Linked DNA regions of Homo sapiens: all the other regions are linked to region 4. Evidence: promoter capture Hi-C in 16 types of primary human blood cells and fetal thymus (Javierre and others, 2016). All regions are on one chromosome and are shown on one strand. The core of a region is centred on a gene start or on the middle of the fragment in contact, and the rest is flanking DNA. Distances in the headings are between cores, read along the strand shown. Region 1 overlaps ZBTB44 (zinc finger and BTB domain containing 44). Region 2 overlaps ZBTB44-DT (ZBTB44 divergent transcript). Region 3 overlaps ZBTB44 (zinc finger and BTB domain containing 44). Region 4 holds the start of LINC02551 (long intergenic non-protein coding RNA 2551). Region 5 overlaps ZBTB44 (zinc finger and BTB domain containing 44). Region 6 has its middle 58 kb from the start of ST14. Region 7 overlaps ZBTB44 (zinc finger and BTB domain containing 44).

Region 1 (3,869 bases), core at 1,231-3,730, 600 kb after region 4:
ACGTCTTGGCCTTGATTGTTGTTTAAATCAGACTTATGTGCCCTTCAGAGTTTTTTCAGTTGTAACATATTTTCCATAGATTTGAGGTAAAGGATCAGCATGCCTTGAAGCCCCTTTCCCTGCAGGGGAGTAAGCAGGGAAGTAGAATGGGGTTTGCAACTCACAACAAACTGATTACTCTCAGCAAAAATCCTTTTCATATCTACTCTTTGAACACGGAAGATGACTGAAGGTGGATGTAACTCAAGGTTGAAAATAGTTTTCCACTACCCCTTGTATAAGGTGCCCTTGTGCCTCACTTGAGAACGTAGTACATTATCTGTTGTTTGGGGCCTATTCAAGATGGAAATGGTTTCATTTTAATACTCCGATGCACATGTCTTCCAAATATGCTGTTTAATTTCTTGCCTTCACACCTTTGTTCATGCAGATGGTCCCTGGATTATAACTAATTCACTTGCTCTGAAAGCATGTTTCTTCCCTCAGCCACATGATCCCAAAGTAAGCACTCTCGAAGGCCATGCTTTAAAAGCAGAAGCTAGTCTCCTGGGATGCAATAAATGAACAAAACGCTTTATATATAGCCCTCCCATTTTCTTTCTTTCATCTCATTTTTGTGAGACCTAAATCAGCAAATATGTTACATGATGGTTTGCGTAGACCAGTCCCTGGCTGTCTAGTGTCTCATTGTGGTCAGTTGACTTCAGGAAGGGTATGTGGAGCACTCAGTTTACATTCGAACTTCTGTTACTAATTATGGTCAAGATAATTATTTCAGTAGCTTTACCTGGCTGCTTTGGAACAGAGATTTATGCCTTATCCTTTTGTGAAGTCTGACATGGAACAGTCTCAAATTGATCATTTTGTCTTCTCAAGTTAGAATAGTCTGTGACTTATATTTTTTTAGACGGGGTCTTACTCTGTCACCAAGGGTGGAGTGCAGTGGTGCAGTCTCGGCTCACTGCAACCTCCACCTCCCAGGCTCAAGTGATCCTTCCACATCAGCGTCCCGAATAGCTGGGACTACAGGCCCATGCCACCACACCCGCCTAATTTTTATGTGTTTTTTTGTAGAGACAGGGTTTTGCCATGTTGGCCAGGCTGGTCTTGGACTCCTGAGCTCAAGCAATCCGCCTGCCTTGGCCTCCCAAAGTGCTGGGATTACAGACGTGAGCCACCACACCTGGCAACCTTTTTAAATTCATCTTGAAATCTTTTTTTTTTTCTTTCCACTTCCTTTTTTTCTTTTTCCCATCTTTCTTTTCCTCTATACATTTACCTGCATAAAACATTAACAGGGATGATTATGTAATGGATTGTTCAGTGTTTACACTGGCATTGCCTGCTGCATGCTCACATTTAGAAACAGGAATGATAATACGCCTACTGATAGAGATATGATGACAATCAACTAACTATTAAATGTGAAGCATTTCAAATACTGTCTGGCACATAGAAGACACTCTATAATTGTCATTATTTACAAACTGTTGCAGCCCTGCAGCTCATTAAAACGCTGGTTCACAGGCCGGGCATGGTGGCTCACACCTGTAATCCCAGCACTTTGGGAGGCCTAGGCAGGCCTATCACCTGAGGTCAGGAGTTCAAGACCAGCCTGGCCAACATGGTGAAACCCCATCTCTACAAAAATACAAAACTTAGCCAGGCATGAGGGCGGGTGCCTGTAATCCCAGCTACTCGGGAGGCTGAGGCAGGAGAATTGCTTGAACCCGGGAGGCAGAGGTTGCAGTGAGCCAAGACCACCCCGCTGCACTCCAGCCTGGGCAACAGAGCAAGACTCTGTCTCAAAAACAAAACAAAACAAAAAAAAACATTGGTTCACAGACTTCACTGATTGGACAGTTTGGAAGGCAGATAAGGAGAATATATTTCTATACAGTCCCTACCTTGAAGTTTCTCTGTCACTACCATCTTTCAGCTTTTTAATTTAGTACAGTGGCCACATGAAAATGATCTAAATCACATTTTAAACCACTAAAATATCAATTAATGCTTTATTTTATGTATTTTTTAGGACATTTCTGATTTATTTGCATCCTTGAAGAGCATCTGTAGAAGAGGAAGTAAAAGATGGGTGTGAAAACATTTACTCATAGCTCCTCTTCCCACAGCCAGGAAATGCTTGGAAAGCTAAATATGCTGCGAAATGATGGACATTTTTGTGATATCACTATTCGTGTCCAGGACAAAATCTTCCGGGCACATAAGGTGGTACTAGCAGCTTGCAGTGATTTCTTTCGCACCAAACTTGTAGGCCAAGCCGAGGATGAGAACAAGAATGTGTTGGATCTGCATCATGTTACAGTGACTGGCTTTATACCTCTTTTAGAATATGCTTACACAGCCACTCTATCAATTAACACAGAAAATATTATTGATGTTCTAGCAGCAGCCAGCTATATGCAAATGTTCAGTGTTGCCAGCACCTGCTCAGAGTTCATGAAATCAAGCATTTTATGGAATACACCCAACAGCCAACCTGAAAAGGGTCTAGATGCTGGACAAGAAAATAATTCTAACTGCAATTTTACTTCTCGAGATGGGAGCATTTCTCCCGTGTCCTCAGAGTGCAGTGTGGTAGAAAGAACCATTCCTGTCTGCCGAGAATCCCGGAGAAAGCGCAAAAGCTACATTGTTATGTCTCCTGAAAGTCCTGTAAAGTGTGGCACACAAACAAGCTCACCCCAGGTATTGAATTCTTCAGCTTCCTACTCAGAAAATAGAAACCAACCAGTTGACTCTTCCTTAGCTTTTCCTTGGACTTTTCCTTTTGGAATTGATCGAAGGATTCAGCCTGAGAAAGTTAAGCAAGCAGAAAATACCCGGACTTTAGAATTACCTGGCCCATCTGAGACCGGTAGAAGAATGGCTGATTATGTGACTTGTGAGAGCACAAAAACTACCTTGCCTTTAGGTACCGAAGAAGATGTCCGGGTCAAAGTAGAAAGATTAAGTGATGAGGAGGTCCATGAGGAAGTGTCCCAGCCTGTCAGTGCATCTCAGAGTTCGCTGAGTGATCAGCAGACAGTTCCAGGAAGTGAACAAGTCCAAGAGGACCTTCTGATTAGTCCACAGTCTTCCTCTATAGGTATAATGCCTTCTGTGTTTTTCTTGGTGCTATAAAGTCAATTCAAACATTTTTAAGTTCCTGTTAGATAAAAAGTTTTGTGCTCGGTCATATAGGAAATATAAAGAAGAGTAAAACATGGTAACTGGATTTGCTTGAGATGCTATTAGCACTATCGTTTATTTTTTACAAGTTGCACATTGGGGAAGATAAAAATAATTGAATGGTATCTGCTGGGACAAAGGCAGATACACATACACAAAAAAGCAGTTAAATCCAGTTTGTGTTTTATTCTTCATTAAAATATGTATTGAAAACTTACCATGTGCCAAGCAAACATTTATGATACATAAAGAAAAACACATAGTCCCTGCAATGACAATTAGGTTAATCATCTAATTGGGGAAGCAGATATGAAAGTAAATGATTACAGTGAACTATCAAAAGTGCTCATCTGGAGGTGTGAACAAAGTAGTATGGTTGCAACAAAGGAAAGAGCAAGTTACACTATATGTTTGAGTGGGTCTTATGCAATAAGTAAGAGTTTACCCAAGTGTGGGAATGTCATTTCTGTGAAAACATAAAAACACAGAACATATATGCAAACACAGAGGTATGGAAGAGCATTGTGTGTTTGGTAAACAGTGAATTCAGTGCAAAATGATGTAAGTAAGTACAGATGCCTGAAACTGTAGGGAATAGTGGGAGATCAGACAAAAGGAGTGGTTGAGCGCAGGCTGTAAAGAGCCTCGAATCCTAGTTTCAGTAGGGGTTGCATTTA
Region 2 (3,657 bases), core at 894-3,393, 520 kb after region 4:
AGGGAAGCCATTCTAAGGATGACCTGCATGATCTGCAACCTTGAAAAACAAAAAACAGGACCTTGCCTTGAAACTTTCAACTAGGCCAAACCTCCATGACCACAACATCCTGGAAAGCAGCTGAAGTTTTCTAGCACTATGACTCCTAAACAACCACAACCAATGACTGTAGACTCATGTACTAAGCCAGCCACCTCCACCCACGATAATTCTTTCAAAAACAACTAGTGTAACCACTCTCAGCATCCTTTTAAAAATCCTTACTCTCCTTCCTCTCTTCAGAATATGATTTGGCCTTTAGCTGAATCTATGTCTCATGAATTGCAATTCCTACAACCCCAATAAATGCCTTGATTCCTTGCTCTGCAGTAAGGTCTTTCACCTCTTCTTGGTTGACATTAAATGGTGTCATAAGTGGGATGCAAGTGACTCTCTTCCTCTGTGTCCCAGTGCTGCTGTGGTTTCAAGCATGGTATTTGCAGGAACTCCTTGCGTTCCATTGCCTTCCTGACAGCCTCAAACCCTATTGGGGAGTCCTCTCATTTTCCTGAACCTCCCACCTTGGTTGAGGTTGAAGCCTTTATTGGGTAGCCTTTGTTGCCAGCTGTCAACAAAGAAAATCTTCCCTTTTTGGTGGGTATTCAGGAGCTCTTTTGCTTCTAATGGCATAGGTGCTAAGTTACCCCCCTTCTTAAACACCTGTTTGTTTTTTAGACAAACATTATGGTCATTCACCTTGTAAATTTCATTCTCAGTGGACCAATATCACTGAAAGTGATTTGGAATTACAATTGCCAACCTGAAGCTTTTTTAATCTCCAAAACTTGTTTTCCTTCTCAATTACAGGGCTAAAATGAAAGAATAAACAGCCTGAGTGGGAAGCCTACTTTAATTGGGTTTCTCAAGGTATCTAAAAGACTCCAGAGATCTAAACTAGTGTCCCTAAGAGATAACCATGCCAAAATAACTTTTAAAAATCTCTAAAATTAAAAAAAAAAAACTCAAGTTTCAAGTTTCTAGAATTTCTCACCTTCAGTGACCAACAGATACATCCTTTAAATTAGAAAGACTCTATACTTGAAAGGTTTTTAGAGGTCTCTCTTTCTAAACAATGCATTATTTGTATTTACGGGAGGATCAAATTGGAAAAAAAAGACACATGATCGTGTTATGGCTAGCCTTAGAAATCATCTTGACAAAATTAAAGAGCAAAAATTCTGACCTAAAACTAAGTTAAAATCCTTGTATGCTTTCAGAACAGGGTTATCTGAAGAAAAAAATCCTTGTATGCTCAAACTGCCTGCTTTGTTAGCCAGGTGTGGTGACACATGCTTGTAGTCCCAGCTACTCGGGAGGCTGAGGTGGGAGGATCAACTGAACCCAGGAGGGTGAGGCTGCAGTGAGCTGAGATCACACCACTGCACTCCGGCCAGGGTGTGAGATCCTGTCTCTAAAGTTTAAAAACAAAAACAAACAAACAAAAAACACTGCCTGCTTTGGATTTCCTGCAGGATTTATTTACAAAAAAAAAAAAAAAAGGCACCCACTCACTCTGTGGTCTATGGTTAGGATTTGGTGCTTTCACTGCCATGGCCCAGTTATGGTTTAATATTTATGTGACTCGTGACTTTTTGGGATACTCATTTGTTATTGACGCTTTTCCCTTCCATACAGCTTTTGATTTCCTGTCTTACTGACTGTTTTAATCTTTCATCTGAGATGCCCATAGAGAAGCTTTCCTTTTTTTAAGCTGTCTTTTGGGGGGGTAGTTCTGGGTCTTGTAAGGACTGCTTTGTACTTCTTTGGCAATACCTCATGCATCCTTCTTTAAGTTATAACCTTGGCTAAGGTTTTTGCTTTTGGTAAGTCACTTGGGAGGTACCTTTGTTAAAAACAATAGCAAAAAACAACTGGCTGCATACAGTGGCTCATTCCTGTAATTTCAGCACTTTGGGAGGTCAAGGCAGGAGGACTGCTTAAGCCCAGGAGTTTGAGACCAGCCTGGGCAACATGGCAAACCTTGTCTCTATAAATTAAAAAGATTAAAAAAAAAATTAGCCAGGCATAGCGGTGCACACCTATGTCCCAGCTACTCAGGAGGCTGAGGCGGGGGATTGCTTGAGCCCAAAAGGTCAAGGCTGCGGTGAGCTATGTTTGTGCCACTGCACTCCAGCCTGGGCAAACAGAGTTAGACCCTGTCTCAAAAAAAAAAAAAAGAAAAAAGAAAAAACAGGTCAAAAGCCAGAAATATTGGCTACTTATCCCTGCTGAAATCTGAAAATAAGAGATATGATAAGATTTTTTTTTAAAGAACTCTACAGTCAGAAATCAACCAAATTAAAAGCTGATATTCAGGCTGTTTTTGTGGGGTTTTTTTTCGAGGTCTTTCTGTTTTTCTCTTTTGGATTCTGTTTCTGGGAATTTTTTTTCAGTCAACTGAAATCCCTTTTTAATTGTGTTCGGTTCCTCTGTCGGCTTCCTTTCTTGTTGGCATGATTTTGCTTAAAAAAAAAAAAAAAGTAAAATTTCACTGGCCTTTCTGGAAAGCTTTAAATCTCCAAATTGGCTCCTTTAAGATTTGTTCTTCCATTTCCTTCCACTTCTACTGCTCCTTCTTTTTTGCTATTTTTGATTCCACATGAAGAGATCTAGGAGGAACTTCTAGTGGCCCTGAAACCCCTTGAGCCACACAGAAAAAGACACCACGCCTCCTTTTTGGGATTCTCAGTTTTCCTTACGGAGCCCCAGAGTTGTGGCGAGATCCTCTCGGGGCTAAAGCTCTGCTCTCTTTTACATTGACCTCTCTAATTCCTCTGGCTTTTGAGGGTACCAGGGATTCCTTTGCACTGTGAAAGAAAGACTGATCTTTGTGCAACGGCCAGTCATCACTAGCAAGGGCTGCAGTTTTGGAGGTGGCTGACAGTGGTTGTTTGCGGTGAATAGTTAATACTGCAGGGGGATACTCATTTCATTGCAAGTTTAGATAAGAAAAGTGAAGTTTGAATACTTGGAGGCTATGGGAACACCTGCCACGAAAGGATAAGACTCCTGGGCCAGGAGCAGTGGCTCCTGCCTGTAATTCCAGTGAGAAGTGACAGCGTGCTGGCAGCCCTCACAGCCCTCGCTCACTCTCCATGCCTCCTCTGCCTGGGCGCCCACTTTGGCGGCCCTTGAGGAGCCCTGCAGCCCGCCGCTGCACTGTGGGAGCCCCTTCCTGGGCTGGCCGAGGCCAGAGCCAGCCTCCTCAGCTTGCGGGGAGGTGTGGAGGGAGAGGCAGGGACAGGAACTGGGGCTGTGCGCGGCACTTGCGGGCCAGCGTGAGTTCCGGGTAGGCGTGGGCTCGGCGGGCCCTGCACTCGGAGCGGCCTGCAGGCCCTGCCGCCCCGGGCAGTGAGGGGCTTAGCACCTGGGCCAGCAGCTGCTGTGCCTGATTTCTCACCAGGCCGTAGCTGCCTCCCCACAGGGCAGGGCTCGGGACCTGCAGCCTGCCATGCCTGAACACCAACCCGGCCCCACCCCGCGTGGGCTCCTGCGCAGCCTGAGCCTCCCTGACCAGCGCCACCCCCTGCTCCACGGAGCCTGGTCCCATTGACCGCCCAAGGGCTGAGGAGTGCCGGCGCAGGACGCGCAGGACTGGCAGGCAGCTCCACAGGCGCC
Region 3 (3,611 bases), core at 838-3,337, 550 kb after region 4:
AGATTTCCTTCATTAAGTGCAGGTAAACTATTGTTCTTCCCCAAAATGCAAATTAAATGTTAAATTTAATCTCTTTACTTTTCAATATTCATAGTAAAGAGCTGGAGAAATAGCCACCCCCAATGATGTTTTTTGGGGCAGGGGTGAATGATACCACTTCAGACTCTCATGGGTTTTAATTTATTCCTTGTTTTATAACCAGTTACAGTCGTCTTTCTTTTTAATGACCAAATTGTCCCAGATTTGGTCAGTAGGAACCATTTCAAGCTGACTATTGTGTGTCTTGACACCCCTGCTCCCCATTAATCTTGGAGTGCTTTCTGACACGAGTTACTCCAGGGTTTATCTTATACTTTCTTTGCTCACCTCTGGAAAGAGCTGTTTATCCAGGGAGTCTTGGTTCTTTTTAATGAGAAATCGTATATAGAAACCAAGTTCTGGATGTTTGGCATATTCGTTGCTGCTGCAGTATCATTGCTTCTAGGTGCTTTGAGAGGAGAGAACTAAGAAAAAGGTTTTTGCTTGTTTAATCATGAGTTCAGAGTGATATTCCAATTCCTATTTAACAAGCAGACTTTTTCTTCCTTGACTCTATATTTGTCTCTTGTCTTAAATGAAAATCTTGGTTTTTAATACAGTTAATAAACTGGCCAAGCACAGTGGCTCATGCCTGTAATCCCAGGACGTTGAAAGGCCGAGGTGGAAGGATTGCTTGAGCCCAGGAGTTCAAGGCCAGCCTGGGCAACATGATGAGACCCCATCTCTATAAAAAATAAAAAAATTAGCCAGGCGTGGTGGTGTGTGCCTGTGTTCCCAGCTGCTCAGGAGGCTGAAGCAGGTGGATCACTTGAGCCCAGGAGGTTGAGGCTGCAGTGAGCCATGTTCATACCCCACTGCACTTCAGCCTGGATGACAGAGTGAGACCCTGTCTCCAAAAAAAATAATAAACTTATTTGCTTTCTCCCACTGTATACATAAAATCATTTTAAAATTATAGTGCTGGTATTGCTAATACCAATAAGCTTCATGTAGTTTAAGATTTCTTTGCATTTATTTTCGTATTTAGACTATATTGCATGAAGAATGTATAATGAGTACTGTGTTCAAAAGTCACTTGAAATACTTTTCTCTGGTTATGCTACCAATTTGATATGGTTCATAGGTTTCAGTTTTTACTTAGGATTTTATTTTTGAATATGTAAAGTATGTACATAGTGTAGAAGTCAAAATAATGTTTTAAAACTATACTTGGATTAGCCGGGCATGGTGGCACATGCCTGTAGTCTCAGCTACTTGGGAAGCTGAGGCAGGAGAATTGCTTGAACCGGGGAGGTTGCAGTGAGCCAAGATTGCGCCATTGCACTGCAGCCTGGGTGACAAAGCGGGACTCCATCTCAAAAGCAAAACAAAACAAAAAAAAACTATATTTGGATAAACCTCATTAAAATTAGTTTTTAAAGATGAAGTATTGTTTACCTTTACCATACTCCTTTTAGTATCTACTACATTCTCACATCAAGCTCAGAAGAATTAGCAATAGACAAATTATGTTATGTGAAGCCACATAGAAGTACTTTTAAATTTTAAAATTAGATTCTGCTTCCTCTGGCAAAGAGAACTAAGACTAGTTTTTAGAAGTTAGCAGAGAAGTGGATTCCATGCTTACTTTTTTTTTTTTTTAAAGACGGGGGATTTACTGTGTTGCTCAGGCTGGAGTGCAGTGGCTATTCACAGATGTGATCCTACTACTGATAAGCACGGGAGTTTTGACCTGCTCTGTTTCTGACCTGGGCCACTTCTCTCATTAGGCAACCTGGTGGTCCCTCACTCCCTGGAGGTCACCATGTTGATGCCTAATTTAGTGCAGACACCCAATCGGCATAGGATACTACAGTCCAGAACTTCTGGGCTCAAGGGATCTTCCTGCCTCAGCCTCTTGAGTAGCTGGGACTACAGGCACACACCACTGCGCCCAGCTCTTTTTCTTAAATAGTGATTTAAAATAGTGATAGATTCTCATTATGTTGTCCAGGCTGATCTCTCAAACTCCTGAGCTCAAGTGATCCTGCTGCCTTGGCCTCCCAAAGTGCTAAGATTACACATGTAAGCCTGTAGCCGTAGGCCTAGATACCATATTTTTAAATAAAAATTCCATAAAAATAGAACTGTAGCTTTTACTTAAATCATGTCTTTAAAGAGGCAGGTAGTTGGTAGAGGTTTTATGACTCCATCTACTTTTTTAACTTTTTTTTTTTTTTTTTGAGATGCAGTCGCCCTCTGTTGCCCAGGCTGGAATGCAGTGGCTCGATCTCAGCTCACTGCAATCCACCTCTGCCCCCTGGGTTCAAGCGATTCTCCTGCCTCAGCCTCCCTAGTAGCTGGGATTACAGGCATGTACCACCACGCCCAGCTAATTTTTGTATTAGTAGAGATGGGGTTTCACCATGTTGTCCAGGCTGGTCTCGAGCTCCTGACCTCAAGTGATTCACCTGCCTCGGCCTCCTGAAGTGTAATCCTGGCCTCCTAAAGTGCTGGAATTACAGACGTGAGCCACTGCGCCCAGGTGACTCCATCTACAACAAAACTGGCATAAATATGCTATGTACAGATAAAAAGGCATTTGGATATGTGATCAGTGGAGATAACACATTTTGTTTGGGTTGGACCAAATTTGATATAAATTCATAATTATGTGATCTCAAATGAAGTTTTAAGAGGGAGCAGTGTTCATCTAAAGTAAGCAGAGCACAATTAGGCAGTTTATCAGCCTCCTGTCAACCAAGTGCTGAAAAGCAAAACTGTGCCTGTAGTGTGTTTTCCTGTGTTCATCCTCACTGTCATAGGTCACACTAGCTGAGGCTGGCGTTGCAGGTGGTAAAGGAATTACCAAGGCAATTGTAGGTAAAGAAGGGCAGATTTATTAGAGAAAGTATGAAAGTAGGTTGGTTGCAAGGGTGCAACGGGCAGATCAGCAAGAGAGAAGCTGACTGCCAGGAGACAATGGCTTGCTGGGCATGTTACAGGATGATGCTTCTGCTGTGTGCTGCAGAGAGGGCTATGTGCAGTACTGATAAGGCCAAGGTTGCAGTGAGCTAACTTGCATTTTTCTGTCAGCTGAGAGTCTGGTGATAAGTTGAGTGCAGAAAGCTTGTGAGTTATTTGTGCAAGAGGGCTGTGTGTCTTGGACCATGAAGAAAGGCAGACTTATACCTTATCTGCTTTTTCTTTTTGCTGTACCCTTTTCCCACCCGCCTGACTCCTTTTCCCTTACTAGGACTCCACAATCACTGCTTTCAATAACAGAGTGAACATCTAGTTCCATTAGGGAGTGGAGTGGGAAGATGGAGAATGCTTGCACTTGGACCCATTCACCCTCATTCTGTCTTTAATCTCAGTAAAATACATACACTACCCAAGGTTCTTAGAACATATAAGGTGATGAAGAAGAATACTATAAACAGTTGCATGGGTATGTGTAGCCATGTAGCAGCTAGAACCTGTTGTGTAGGCTGAATGAACTAATACAGTGTTGATAATAATGCTAACATTTGTTATGCCCTTTCTGTATGCCAGCTGTGCTAAACATTTTATACATTATCTTATTTAAATCT
Region 4 (3,511 bases), core at 977-3,476:
TTACTATTGATTTATATTCTATTATTATACTATATTACATTACACTATATTTGTTTTAATTGACAAAATTATATAGATTTATTGGGTACAGCATAACATTTTGATATATGTTTACATTGTGGAATGACTAAATCAAGCTATTTAAAATATGTCTTATCTCACATATGATTTTTTGTGGTGAGAACACTTAAAATATACTCTGAGCAATTTTCAAATATACAATATGTTGTTAACTGTAATCACCATGTTATACAATAGATCTTTGAACTTCTTCCTCCTAACTGAAATTTTGTGTCCTTTGACCAACATCTCCCCAATCCTCCAACCCTTCAGCCTGTTAGCCACTATTTTATTCAGTGTTTCTATGAATTCAGCTCTTTAGAGTTCACATGTAAGTGAGACCATGTGGTATTTGTCTTTCTGTGCCTGGCTTACATCACTTCAGGTTACACTATATATGTTTAAATCTTTCACTGTGTGTGGTTCCCATAAGAATGCAAGCCCCATGAGGGCCAGGACCTTGCTTTATTCACAGCTCACCCTACAGCTCTGCCTTTAGCAGTGTGAGGAATATCGTAGGTGCTCACTGTTTGTGGAATGAGTGGATAGGTGAATGAATGAGCAAATGAATATTTTTCTGTAAAGCAAGGACCACTCTGTGTGATAATGTGACATGCAGCCCACCATGGGATGATGTAAGGCTTCTTTTCACAGAACCGAAGAGCGTTTGAACTATAAAGGTCCTTGAAAGTAGGTCACCGTCCCAATTGTACAGAGTAGGAAACTGAGTCCCAGAGAGGGAAAACAGATGGAAATGAACACTTGGAAAGTTAATATCTTTGATTTTTAATACTTCTTCCTAGAGCGTAGTCCGATGTAACAGTTCATCTGGCGAGATTCTGAGTTACCAATTTTTTATGGGTTTTGCGTTAGAATAATTTTATAATAATCAAAAGTAAATGAGAACAAGGCCAATAGCATAAAATTTCACTCCTTCACACTCCTAAGTGTTTTTCGAGGCACTGCGGAAAAGGAAGCATCTATCGTGGTTGGTCCAGCATCCCTTCAGTAGCTTAGATCTGCAGAAATACTGTTGGAACATCGTTTCTTTATTCTTCCCATCCTTTGTGTGTTAGGCCAAACCCTGAGGACTGTCTGCCTTGGAATAGAGAGGAAATCCAAGCATATGTGCAAAGTTGAGCTGCACTTTCAGCCCCAGGTCTTCAATGGGCCTTCTCCACAGGCACCTGTGAAATGCCAGCAGGGTCGTTGCATGTAGAGGGATCCCACTCAGTGCACCCCTGGGAATGGCTCAGCCGCACTGTGGGTGTAAGCATTAATCACACAACAGCCATTCTACATATTCCTTTTTTATTCTCCAGAGAGTGCCAGGAAAAGTCCTGCCCAGTCAAAAGTCTTCTCTTGCAGCTGGGTGTTGAGGGTGATTGCCCCTCTCTCTCCTTGTAAGATTATGTTTGACAGCAGTGAAAACCAACAGTTTAACAGCAGTAATCTCTTGGCAGGACAGATTGATATGAGCCTTGTCCCAAAACAAAGTAATCCTTTCAGGGAAGTGTATTTCAAGTTGAGCTCACGTTCCCAAGATGCTGAGATTCTTATGTAGCTGACACCGGAGCTGAGGCTGAGCCCCAGCCAGGGATATCCAACGATTGCCAGTAACACCACGGAACTGAGTGAAGATTCAGGGGCTGAGTGTGTTCCTGAGTGCTTCAAACCGGGGGACCTGGAAACCAGAGGACTCCTGGGGAAAGGCTGTCAACTCCAGCCTGCTCTTCCTAAATGGCCTTGTTAGTAGTGACTTCAGCCCTGGCGGTGAGGCATGTGGGTCAGAATAACATTCCCTTTCTTTTCCCTTCACCTCTTTTTTCTCCACGGTTCCTTTTCATAACTTCTTTATTTGCTGCCTAGAGGAGCTTTCTGGACATTTTGTCTCCAGGGAGCGTGACATGTCACCTGTTTCTCACCTCATATGCCTCTGATCTTCTACACCAAGGTAGCTATAAAGGCTTGCTTTCTAGGCTGGGTTTCCCTGCACAGGCCCACTGAACCACTCAAACCTCAGAGGTGGAAGTGCCCAGCGGGCCTCATGGTCAGCTGGGGATAACGGAGTCATTTTCGCAGCCCAACTTCTGAAATTCCACAAGAGGGCGCCCAAGGTCTCCCAAGTCCGGCCACGCCCGGTGGCCTTGAGGCCGGAAGGTGGCGCTGTTGCTTTAGCCATCAAGAAAGGCAAGGCTGGGGACGCCGCATCCCCGGGTGCGGAGGGCGATGCCTAGGGGCGATGCTGTGCCTGTGGCGGCCAAACAGTGCCACCCACTCCGGGAAACAAAGCCAAGCGCCGGACGCTAGGTATGGGAGAGAAGAGCCACCCTGACCCAAGGGAGGGCTCTAGGTGAGGAGCCAGCGTCCTCCGGCTCCGGTTCCCGCTGCACTGCTGCTTTGCCAGGAGGCCTTGAAGAAAGTCATTCATTCTTTCTCCCCCACAGCTTCCTAGGTCTTCCACGTGTTCAACGGAAATTCACAAATTCTCTAGTAGCAGGTAAGCTTCGGATTCAGGAATGAAAAAGACAAAGCCCTGTCCTGGGTGAATTCATTATCCATGGACAGGGGAGGCAGGCGCATCATCGGAAAGTCACCGTGTGAGGAGGGACGTGGAGGCACAGAGGTGCACACGGAAGCCCCCAGAAGAAGGACTTCCCCCAGCCTGGGGAAGCTGGGCGGGCAGGGGTGGGCCAGCGAAGCCTTCCCGGTGATTCTAGGCAGTCTTAAAAGGTGTTAGGAGTCAACTTGGGAAAGATTAGGAAAAGGCAGTGTAGGCCAAGGGACGGCCGGAGCAGAGGCCGCGCGGCAGTGCTGGCATGTGGGTGGGCGGTGGTAAGGAAGGCGGTGGATGAGGATGCAGGGAGCAGATGGGCTGCGTTGCAGGCTGGGCCCCTATGGCCCTCAATAGGTTTTGTGGTCAACATGCTTTGTGGAGTTACAACAAGCAATGGTGGCCCTAACACATATATTCATTTATAGGTCCATAAATCTGCATTCATAGAGATAAATGAGTAATCCCCAGGGTGAAGGAGAACTGGAAGAGACACTGGAGCCAGGTCCACCCTTGGCCAGGTTTTACCTTGACTTGGCGTCATCACTAGGCACTGGTTTTTTTCTCTCTCCTTCTTCCCTGACCAAGAAATACAACAAATTCGTTATGATATCGACTTGTCATGATCCGAAATTGAAGAGCAACCATATATTTATTTGGCAAGATAAATACACACATTCTTTACATAAGATTAGTAGCCACCAGTTTCTAAAAGCATATATTGTCATTTATTTGCCAAAACAAAGGTACATGCCCACATGTTATAGATGGGAAAGATGAGGCCCAGAGCTCGGGTGCATGGCTGAGGTCACCCAATTAGTGGATGGTGGTGCTGGCACTTCTGTCTGGGCTGCTTCACCTTGTCACACACTCTCCACTCCATGCAGGCCGCACCTC
Region 5 (3,639 bases), core at 104-2,603, 580 kb after region 4:
CTTGAAAACTATGTTGTCTTAAAATGTACTGTTATTTTTAGGTGAATAATTTTTTAAATTTCTAAGTTTTAATTTATAATACGGTAAATATTTTTAGATATAGTTCATGTAAATAAAAGCTCTTTTGGGTTCTCAATAAATTTTAAGAGTGTAAAGAGGCCTGAGATTCGAGTTTAAAATCCGCTGTCTAGTGTTAATCCCACTCTAACCACATACTCCAAAGTTTTTCCATTTCTCCAATCATTATTTCCTTCTCTTACTATTATCAGTTATCATGTAGGTATATCATCTTCATATGTTGCAGGATTTGTTGCAAGTACTTTAGAGTCATTCATTCTATTTAATATTGATCCCATTTATGGGAGCAGAAGCTTTCTTATTCTTTATTAATATGTCTCTGCATTTTATTTCCAACACTTACCTCTGTTTGTTAGTACTTTCACCATTCTTACTGTTTTTGTGCTTATCGAACATGCTGGATTTAGTAATATACCTCAAAACTAAGCACAGAGAAAAAACTAATGAAGACTAGAGAGCTAAGACTTACATGACCACACAAGTCCATTATTATCATCTCTTGGTAATAGGCATAGTTAACACTCTTGCTCTGAGAAATGACTTTGATTTATGATAAACATTTATAAGTGGGGAGTATCTGTAATTTTTATAAACTTGGCTGTGAAGGGAGAGTGCCTGATGGATGATACCCAGTTTTGATGGGAGGTGAGGGATGGGGCATGGAGAATCAAAAATGAGTACTAGATTTTAAGCTATGGGTGACTGAGCAATTGAAGGTGTCCATGATTAACAGATTAAGAAATTCTGTAGTGGTATGTTAGTTGGGTAATAATTTGAGTTTGTTTTCAGACATTGAATTTGCAAGATGGCGAACACATTCAGATGGAATTGTCTAGCACTCTAGCTGGTCAGTAGAAGCCCAGAATTGACATTCAGAGGGATATTGCTGAGATTTTAGTCAAAGGTGGTAGAGTCAGAGATCTGTCAATAATGATAGCTTATCTGTTAATCACTGCTGCACCATATTCTTATATAAACAGTCTGTGCTGGGCACTGGGCTCTTTACATAGACTCATCTCATTGAATCTGTATGACAGTCCTCAGAAAGCTCACTTGTTTAAGGTCATCCAGCCACTACAGTCATATAACCATGATTAACATGCAGGTCTGTCTGAACTAAAAAGCTGTTGTTCTACCTAGTGGACATGCTGTCTCCAGGCAACGTTAATATATTCATTGATAATTGAATTGAATGTGAAATACTCAAAGCCTAATTATGCATGAGGTGAAGAAATCTGTCACTGAGTTTTGGGTAATATGAAAAGACTATAATTCTTTTAATTAATGCTTAGTAATGTGTCAGAAGATTCAAATGTATTTATCCTTGGAGCAATCTTCTGTAGTTCAAAGGGACAGGGATACCACGAGTGTCTATGGCAGATCTAGAATTAGAAACCTTAATAGGAATTGAGTAGTTATAGTGTGAGATATAATTTATGGGGAAAATTTCAGGTAGTAAGTTTCAGAGACTATTCAAATTAATAGATTTTTTTTAAGTTTATTGTAATTTTAAAAATACATTTACAGGTCAAAAAGTATGTATTTTTCTGGGATATTCAGATAATCAGAATAGGCTAATATCTGTCATTTTCACAGTCACTTTTTTCTCTTTAGGTTGTTAGGCAGCAAATAACTACAGCTAAGGACTCAGCTTTTAATATTCTGGCCCATTGGTGATTTTTTCATTTTTTTAAAGATCACTTTGTTACAGAATTTGCCTGATTTCGTCTCAGTCTGATAATTTAGAAAGGAATTGACTGTAATGAGTCCTAACATTTTTCCACATCAATCTTTTTAGTTGTGTAGTTTGTCACTTTTCGGATAGTTGATTTACTGCTTTGAACAGATCGAATATGAGTTTTAGAAGTAGTAAGATTTTTATTCCAACAAGAACAGTTCCTTTATAGAAACAAGTTTTCTTACACTATTATCAAATCACTAGAAAGAATACTTGTAGGTGGGCTGGATCAGTGGCTGGAGCATTACCCCTGCTGCATACTGGCTGCTAGCAGTTCTGAGAGCAGAGTGGACAGCACGGGTTGGTCTCAGGATTTGTTGTGTGCCTTGTGGATATCACTGTCAAAAGAAGTATAGGAGCATGTGGGCATGAACTGGTTTGGGAACAAATACTACTCTATTCCAGAGTACAAGAACTGGAGAGGTGAGGACAAACTATTCAAGAGAAAAGAATTGTAGAAGCAGCAAATAAAAAATTAGACTGTGAAGTAGGGGATATTCCAACAGAATGGGAAGCTTAGATCAGAAGAACAAAAAAGAGGCTGGGTGTGGTGGCTCACGCCTGTAATCCCAGCACTTTGAGAGGCCAAGGCAGGCAGATCACCTGAGGTCAGGAGTTCGAGACCAGCCTGGCCAACATGGTGAAACCTCATCTCTACTAAAAATACAAAAATTAGCCAGTCATGGTGGTGCACGCCTGTAATCCCAGCTACTCAGGAGGCTGAGGCAGGAGAATCACTTGAACCCGGGAAGCGGAGGTTGCAGTGAGCCGAGATTGTGCCACGGCATTCCAGCCTGGCCAACGAGAGCGAAACTCTATCTCAAAAAAAAAAAAAAAAAAGAAAACAAGAATAACTCCACCTACGATGGAGGAAATACTAAAGAATGAAAAATACAGAGAAGAAATTAAAAAGCAAAGATTTTTATGAAAACCAAAAACTCCTTAGTAAAGAGACTAGTGAGGAACTCTTGGCTCCACCAGTTCAAACTCAAAGGACATGGCTTTGCTCCATACTTCGGAAAGGAAGAACTCACTGGTTCCCACCAGCACTGGTAAAACCTTTCAGCCAGAATCCCAGATGCCGCAAGATAGAAGGAGCCACAGTCAGTGACTGCATTATGGTCAGATCGTTTTGTGTATATGGATGTGATGATTTTCACAAAGAAAAGAAGTCAAAATATACTTAAAATTTAGAGAGATTGGCCCCCAGGTCCTGTTTTTAACAGTGATTTTTGTACAAAGCAGTGGACTTTTTTTTTTTTGGAGACGTAGTCTCGCTCTGTTTCCCAGGCTGTGGAGTGTAGTGGCATGATCTCAGCTCACTGCAACCTCTACCTCCTGGGTTCAAGCGATTCTTCTGCCTCAGTCTCCAGAGTAGCTGGGATTACAGGCACGTGCCACCACGTCGGCTAAATTTTGTATTTTTAGTAGAGACGGTGTTTCTCCATGTTGGTCAGGCTGGTCTCGAACTCCTGACCTCGTGATCCACCCGCCTCAGCCTCCCAAAGTGCTGGAATTACAGGGGTGAGCTACCACGCTTGGCCAACAGTGCTTTTTGTACAAAGTAGTGGACTCTTAAGAACCAAGTCATCTGTGCTCCATCCCTAGCCCTGACATTAAGTAACTGACATCCCTAGCTCTGACGTTAATAACTGACATTAAGTAACTGACTTGGTTTACTTTTCTGGGCTTTAGCACAAGTATATGCCACCAGTAAATGTTTGTTGAGGTACCATGAACAGTTGTGGTAATTATACATTACCAAAGTGTTTGTGATTATTAGTTACTTGAATTTTATTTTACCAATGAATAAACTTTTAATA
Region 6 (3,404 bases), core at 800-3,299, 640 kb after region 4:
TCCCTAGGCCTTAATATGAACATAGCAGGTTAGCAGCATTATTTAACCTTGGAGAAGAAAAGCTTTATAGATGTGAAGGCTTCCAGGTACATTAAATAAGAAATCCAAGCTCTGGCAGAGGTGATCTGAGGAGCATCTCTATACCCCTGAGAAGACAGCAAAGAGAGGACTTGGTTCCCCATAGTAGTGACCATGTTCCCAAATTCCCTTGGCCTCCCATAAACCTGCTCCAACCCGGGAATGTGCCAGGGACTCCTGTGTGGCTCCAGCCCTTACCACTCTCCAAGGTCACAGAAGTGAGGCCTGCTCCATGTGTGCAGAGATGGACCGTTTTGGTCAAGTGTTCAGGAAACGCTTGTGGGACTTTAGGTGTCTGCCAGCCTCTCCAAGACACAGTGAGTTCCCCACTGTATGCCCAAAACACCCGGGGTGAGGGTCAGGGCACAGGAAGGTAGCCCGGCCAGCCCCTGGAACGCCACCTTCACAGCGGTGTCCAAATCTGAGGCCTCCAGGCCTGATGTTTCTACTCATGGAAACACAGGTGTTCGACGTCTATGCTTCACCAAGACGCACCATAAACCGTGTGGGCAGGGGCTTGTGGAGAGAGGTGGGCTGCCCAAAGCTGCCTTCTGAACCACACATCCATCCTGCCCTGCTGCCCAGCTGGCCCCGCTGAAACACACTGTGCGTTCCCTGCTGCCCTCACTGCAGTGAGTCCCAGGGCGGACACTGAACCAGGCCCAAATCATCTTTACTGAACCCAAACTTACAAAACATTATTTTAAAAACTAAACCAGGCTGGGCGTGGTGGCTCACGCCTGTAATCTCAGCACTTTGGGAGGCCAAGGCGGGTGGATCACCTGAGGTCAGGAGTTTGAGACCAGCCTGGCCAACATGGCGAAACCCTATCTCTCATAAAAATACAAAAATTAGCCAGGCATGGTAGCAGGCACCTGTGATCCCAGCTACTCGAGAGGCTGAGGTGAGAGAATCACTTGAACTGGGGAGGCAGAGGTTGCATTGAGTCAAGATCACGCCATTGCACTCCAGCCTGGGCAACAGAGCAAGACTCCATCTCAGAAAAGAAAAAAAAAAAATTAAATGTCTTTTGTTTAAAATAAATACCCAACAAAATAGTTCAAGCTGTGAACCACTCATTCGTTTTTCAGAAGCCTTTGAATTAGAACAAAATGGAATTATATTTTCAGCTTGGGTCTTGCTACATGTCCCCAGGTCCCAGTGAAAATCCTTGTTACTGATGATGCAGGAATATTTCTGTGCCCCCCACACAGGTCCAGTTTGTGGGTCTTCTTTGGGACTGGAAAATCTGGGCACAGGGGCCGGCCCTGCAGAATCTCTCTCCAGCCCTTCCCCTCTAGGCTCCAGTCCGAGGCCCGCCCCATCACCCCTGGCCTCTGTTCCCTTTGCTTAAGCTTCCCGCAAGGCCAAGCAGCCTTCAGCAGAACTGAACTGCTCAGGGAGGAAGACGAGGGTCACAGGCTGATCCTCCTGAATCAGAGGACAGAACATGTTGTTCTAGTGCCCACGGCCAAGACCTCAAGGAAACATATTCTCCCTCCAGTCCACACTGCCCCAGGCAGAGGAGTAAGACGAAGCAGATGGTTTGGCCCCTTAGAGAGGGAAATGCCCAGGGGCTGCTGGGGGTGGCCAAGGAAAGAAAGGACATGGGGAAGATTTTGAAATGCTAATGGAGCCGGGTTGGAGTCCTGCCAGCGAAAGTCTGTTTTGGCCTTTTCCACGTGTGCCTAAGCCAGTGAGTTTATGACCTGGCGAGAGAGGTCCTGGCTCCAGCACCTAAAGCCCCAGGTGGAGCATGCATTGGCTGCAGGAGGCTGTGCGGGTGGACCCAGTGGCCCAGGTGCACCCTTCTCTTCCCCTACTGAGGAACCGTGAGCAGCAGGCTCTCTATCTGCACGGCCACAGCGTCCTCTCCTATAACTGGGAATGACAGAACCCACTCCCGAGGACTGTGATGACGCTGAAGTGAGAGGTGAAGTGAGAGGATGCATCCACGCCGCCAGAGTCCCTGACACTTCTTTGACATACAGATTGGAGCAGTCACTCTTCCAGGGCCTCTCCAGCTCTCACATCCAGCGCAGGGGACAGGAAGAGGCCGCTTGGCATCCCACTTGGCAAGGTCAGGGGCACAAAGACGGGGTGGAAGCACAGTGGGGTCCCAGGCTGGACGGGCCTGTCCGTGCTCCCACATTAGGACGGATTAAAATGCCTCGTGGGCATCTGGCGTAGGTCACCTTGAATTTCAGGTTCTTTCCAACCGTGAGGTTCCAGTTCTGAAAGGATGTCCCTCAGGCAGCTGCTTTCCTGGGAAACAGCAACTCCACTGAGCCTTGGAGGGTCATAAAGGTCCCCGCACACACCCCAGAAGGCCCCAGAGAGGCACCTTTCCTGTGCTCGGCTCAGGCTGGTCGGCCAGACCCCGTGACCTGACCCTGCCAGGAATGTGACCTGTCTGCCCGCCCAGACGTGCCCAGGACCTTGTTTCCCAAGTGTCTGCCTCATCTGGGGGCCCGATGCCCCCAGCCTACACCGGGTGCCCTTTCCGCAGTCACAGATGCCTGATTTGTTGAATTAATGAGCGGCTGCTTCTCTCATCCTTTCCCTTGGCTCATTCAAGTAAGCTTGTTACCCATTCTTTTGCAACAGAGTCACATGTGTCAAACAGATTTCATTTTTTTCCTAGTTTATGCCTATACATTTCTTCTGTCCTATTTGTCTTCATTGGGATTTGGATGGGAATTGGATTATGAGCTGCAAAGAGGTGTCAGATACCCAGTGTATTCTGGGAGCTGTCCTCCGAATGTCCTTCTGCATGAAGACTGAGATCTTCTCCACCCTTCCTGGGTGGGCCTGGTCCCTCGACCCCCTCCCTCACACTGCAACCTCAGAGCTCTGTGGAAAAAGCACACAGGCTGAGGGTGGTAGAATTTCCCTGTTGAGCTCTTTCCCTATTGAGTTAAACGAGACCATATGAAGTTCCAGAGGGTCTGGCGCAGAGGCTGGGTTATTCTTGATCCAGGGGTGTGGGCAGGGGAACAGTGATAACCTCCAAGGTGAAAGCAGCGCGTCGGGGAGGGAGCCTGCAGCCAAGCCAAGGGCAAGGGAGAGCTAAGTTTCCATCCTAGGAAAACACACACATCCCTCCCGCTGGAAGGTGCTGAGACTATGGAATAAACAGACAATGGAGCTGAGTCCCACCCATACCCGCAAGCAGCTCTGGACAGTGGCTTTTTAGGAAACGATGGGAGTGAGTGGAAAGGGTAGAATGAACACATGGTCTCCGAGTTGCAGGCACAGGACAGTGGAACTTGGGAGGAGACATTCCTCTGGAGGAGAAAAGGAGAGAAATAGGAAAAGGATAGTCA
Region 7 (3,387 bases), core at 756-3,255, 620 kb after region 4:
AAAAGAACTTAAATAGTAATATAAGACTATTATCTTACATGTGGTTTTTCTTTAAAATCACAAACATTTAAAAATATAGAACACGGCTGGGTGCGGTGGCTCACGCCTGTAATCCCAGCACTTTGGGAGGCCGAGGCAGGTGGATCACAAGGTCAGGATATCGAGACCATCCTGGCTAACACAGTGAAACCCTGTCTCTACTAAAATACAAAAAATGAGCCGGGCGTGGTGTCGGGCGCCCGTAGTCCCAGCTACTCGGGAGGCTGAGGCAGGAGAATGGCGTAAACCCAGGAGGCAGAGCTTGCAGTGAGCCGAGATCGCGCCACCGCACTCCAGCCTGGGCGACAGAGCGAGACTCAGTCTCAAAAAAAAAAAAAAAAAATGTAGAACACTACTTTGGATTAATAATTCAGGATATGAACACTAGATAATATATGTCAGAGGCTTAGATATAATATAGCTTTCAGTTACAATCTTGGCTTATTCACACCAAAGGATTACAGTGGTCCTCTTTCTCTTATTCACAGGCTCAGTAGATGAAGGCGTTTCTGAGGGCTTGCCTACACTTCAAAGCACGTCTAGCACTAATGCTCCTCCGGATGATGATGATCGGTCAGTACTAACATAGCATTTCGTTACCTCTTAAGGGTTGTGTTTACAACTCCAAATTCAAGCATTTCATCTCAAGAGTTGTAGAAGTTTATTACAACCTCACTTCAGTATACTTTTCAAAGTAATGAAGTAGCATCATCACATTATAAATTAGAGTACCTATACAAGGCTTTTTTTTTTCCCCAGCATTTCCAAAACTACCTAGTCCCATTGCTTTAAATCGTATCTGTACCAAGTGTTGGCAAACTATGAACCACAGGCCAATTCCAGCCTACCACCTTTATTTGTAAATCAAGTATTACTGGAACACAACCAGGCTCATTTGCTGACATATTGTTTGTGGATGGCAGAGTTGAGTGGTTGAAACAGACTGTATGGTGTGCAAAGTCAGAATGTGTGCTGTACGGACTGCTGTGAAAAACATCTGCCAAAGTCTGATCTGTATACCCATAACTCCCTCCCTGCTTGATATTTCCACATAAATGTATAAAGGGCATTTCACATTTAACAAGGCCAAGACAGAACTCTTGATTTCTAACTCCTTGTCTGAATCCTGCTTCTCCAGCCTTTCTCCCATTTCAGTAAGCATCATCATTATCCCCTAATTTCTCAAGCAAAATCTCTGAGGATTGTTCTTAATCTTTTTTCCTTACCACTCTTCATCTCCCTCGTAGTTAATCCTTAAGTCCTGTCAACTCTGCCTATAAAATATATCCCTGTCTACTTTTCTAATCTGTACTGTAGCCACCCTACTCTAAGTCACCACCATCTTTTGCCTTGACTACTGCAATAACCTTCAAAGTAGCCTCTGATTGCATTCTTCCCCTAATCCATTTTCCATGTAGCAGCCAAAATCATCTTTTCTTTTTTAATTAAGTCAGATTATGTCACTGTTTTAAGCTATAGATTCTTAACATTCTTTATTCATACCTAAAATCTATAGGCCTTGCTATGCCTTCTAAAGCCCTACACGATATGACTTCTGCCTAACTCCGTCTCAAAAAATAAAAAAAAAAAACAAAAGGCATTCTGGACATTAACATTGTTTTTCATATTGTTAAAGTAAAACTTGAAGTCTAACAGTTAAACTGTTTCAAAAAGTCTTTAAGTGTTTTATCTTTTTTCATTTAAAATTGACCTATAGCAGTGTTTATTCAGTTTAAAAATCAGAGCCTGGTTGCCTTCTTTGGTCTGTTTTTTTTAGATTGGAAAATGTTCAGTATCCCTACCAACTCTACATTGCTCCTTCCACCAGCAGTACAGAGCGACCAAGTCCAAATGGTCCCGACAGACCTTTTCAGTGTCCAACCTGCGGGGTGCGATTCACCCGTATTCAGAACCTAAAGCAGCACATGCTCATCCACTCAGGTAATGTCACCTTCCCTGTTGGTGCGTAAGTGAACGCTCTAAAACATTTTATTTTGCAGTCCCAGTTAAAATAGAAAACAGGGGCTTCTGAGTTTTAAAAAAAACTCTGGGAAGTCAAATGAAAACAGATTAGCTAAGGTTTATTGCTGAAATGATGCAGTGTCAGAAAGCTGCTTGCCACGGGTGTTGAGTATTCTGATTAAAAGAACATAAGGTGATATGGAGTGAGTACTTTGTAAATAAAAAGACATATTAGGTGTGCACATAGAGGTGAGATAGAGAATCACAAACACAGATGGTAAAGCAAATAGGGTTAAAAGGGTCTGTATGGGTGTTCTTTGTGCTGTTCTTCTTATAATGTCTCTTTAAGTTTGAAATTTTTCCCAAATAAAAGTGTGTTTAAAAATGTAATATTTTCTTGCTAATTTACTTTCAATTCTACAGTCCTAAATCTCTGTGTGCCCTGATGAGTCAGCTTTGTAGTTTGTATTTTTTTAAACATAACAGAGATTTTGGATAAATGTATAGAGGGGATTTGAAATTTTAGTTCAGTAATCACATGAAGGCAACAGGATTCTTGTGGGTAAAACACTGACCTCTGACGAGTAAGAGATCTTTGCTGCTGTTTTCAGCTGCGTGAGTTACTATCTCACTTTCCCCTTCTGTAGATAGGTCTTACAGTCCCTGTCCTAGCACCAATTCTCTGTGACTTTGTTCAATCCGTAGACTGTGTTTTGAAAGGTTTTAAAATTTTTTCCCCAAAACACTGTGATAATGAATTTGAGGAGACTATTAATACACTTTATAACTCATTTATTTCTATCAATATTACATCATATTACCCAAAAAAACCCATTATATCAAATGATGGTTCTGTCATGCTCATTACATTCAGAGATGTTAAAATTGTTCTTTCTTCTCGTTTCTCTGTGAGATAGGGAACAGAGAGTAGGTACTGATGATTTTCATATCCGTTCAATGTAAACCTCTAATGAAATGAAATAATATGTGCTGTTAGTGGGGATTTGGGTTCTGTCTACATACTGTAGTTAAATTGTGTTTTGAAGTTAGTAAAATAGATGATCTAGAAAAGCATTCAAAAATCAGCTTCAGTAGACGTTACCTAGTTTGCCTCCCCTACTGCCTTTTTTTCTTTTCCTTTTTAAGCACTTGTGACTTTTCACATATTCTGCACATTTTCTGAGATACTCAATTAGAATATGTTTTTGCTGGTAATTCTTGCCTTTTCAGATGATCTGTTGCTACAGAAATATAGTTCAGAAATTTGTAGGGTTTATGACTTTTCAGTTTATTTTTGTTTTTAGATATTTTGTTTTGCTTTATTTACAGGAATTAAACCATTTCAGTGTGACCGCTGTGGGAAAAAGTTCACCAGGGCTTACTCGC

What was found. The method cuts DNA at HindIII sites, captures the fragments that hold promoters and counts their contacts. A CHiCAGO score of 5 or more calls a contact.
Region 1: a contact is called between a fragment that was not itself captured here and the fragment with the promoter of LINC02551 in region 4, in 3 of 17 cell types (naive B cells, total CD8 T cells and erythroblasts). The highest score is 7.0, in naive B cells.
Region 2: a fragment that was not itself captured here is called in contact with the fragment with the promoter of LINC02551 in region 4 in 2 of 17 cell types (M1 macrophages and non-activated CD4 T cells); the score reaches 5.4 in M1 macrophages.
Region 3: a contact is called between a fragment that was not itself captured here and the fragment with the promoter of LINC02551 in region 4, in 1 of 17 cell types (total CD8 T cells). The highest score is 6.8, in total CD8 T cells.
Region 5: a fragment that was not itself captured here is called in contact with the fragment with the promoter of LINC02551 in region 4 in 1 of 17 cell types (total CD8 T cells); the score reaches 5.6 in total CD8 T cells.
Region 6: a fragment that was not itself captured here is called in contact with the fragment with the promoter of LINC02551 in region 4 in 17 of 17 cell types (total CD8 T cells, naive CD4 T cells, naive B cells and 14 more); the score reaches 35.1 in total CD8 T cells.
Region 7: a contact is called between a fragment that was not itself captured here and the fragment with the promoter of LINC02551 in region 4, in 3 of 17 cell types (total CD4 T cells, naive CD8 T cells and naive CD4 T cells). The highest score is 5.9, in total CD4 T cells.

The regions. Positions count from the first base shown.
Region 1 is chr11:130,260,096-130,263,964 of GRCh38, reverse strand. It overlaps ZBTB44 (zinc finger and BTB domain containing 44), which reads left to right. Exons shown (of 8, transcript NM_001301098.2): 2 at 2,036-3,109. The coding sequence starts at 2,092. Among named protein-coding and RNA genes, the nearest start is that of ZBTB44, 53 kb to the left of the region's middle. The HindIII fragment of the contact is 5,894 bases long and covers 1-3,869 here.
Region 2 is chr11:130,337,353-130,341,009 of GRCh38, reverse strand. All of the region lies in intron 1 of ZBTB44-DT (ZBTB44 divergent transcript), which reads right to left. Among named protein-coding and RNA genes, the nearest start is that of ZBTB44-DT, 24 kb to the right of the region's middle. The HindIII fragment of the contact is 813 bases long and covers 1,737-2,549 here.
Region 3 is chr11:130,308,546-130,312,156 of GRCh38, reverse strand. The region is part of intron 1 of ZBTB44 (zinc finger and BTB domain containing 44); the gene reads left to right. It also overlaps the pseudogene RN7SL778P. Among named protein-coding and RNA genes, the nearest start is that of ZBTB44, 4.6 kb to the left of the region's middle. The HindIII fragment of the contact is 2,125 bases long and covers 1,025-3,149 here.
Region 4 is chr11:130,860,825-130,864,335 of GRCh38, reverse strand. LINC02551 (long intergenic non-protein coding RNA 2551) reads left to right here and starts at 2,226. Exons shown (of 6, transcript NR_125383.1): 1 at 2,226-2,370; 2 at 2,508-2,560. RefSeq lists enhancers at 1,864-2,364, 2,365-2,865. The HindIII fragment of the contact is 6,813 bases long and covers 1-2,567 here.
Region 5 is chr11:130,284,308-130,287,946 of GRCh38, reverse strand. All of the region lies in intron 1 of ZBTB44 (zinc finger and BTB domain containing 44), which reads left to right. It also overlaps the pseudogene NDUFAF2P2. Among named protein-coding and RNA genes, the nearest start is that of ZBTB44, 29 kb to the left of the region's middle. The HindIII fragment of the contact is 1,960 bases long and covers 374-2,333 here.
Region 6 is chr11:130,215,872-130,219,275 of GRCh38, reverse strand. No RefSeq gene overlaps it. Among named protein-coding and RNA genes, the nearest start is that of ST14, 58 kb to the right of the region's middle. The HindIII fragment of the contact is 1,227 bases long and covers 1,436-2,662 here.
Region 7 is chr11:130,237,037-130,240,423 of GRCh38, reverse strand. It overlaps ZBTB44 (zinc finger and BTB domain containing 44), which reads left to right. Exons shown (of 8, transcript NM_001301098.2): 3 at 528-612; 4 at 1,817-1,980; 5 at 3,331-3,387. Among named protein-coding and RNA genes, the nearest start is that of ZBTB44, 76 kb to the left of the region's middle. The HindIII fragment of the contact is 4,573 bases long and covers 1-3,387 here.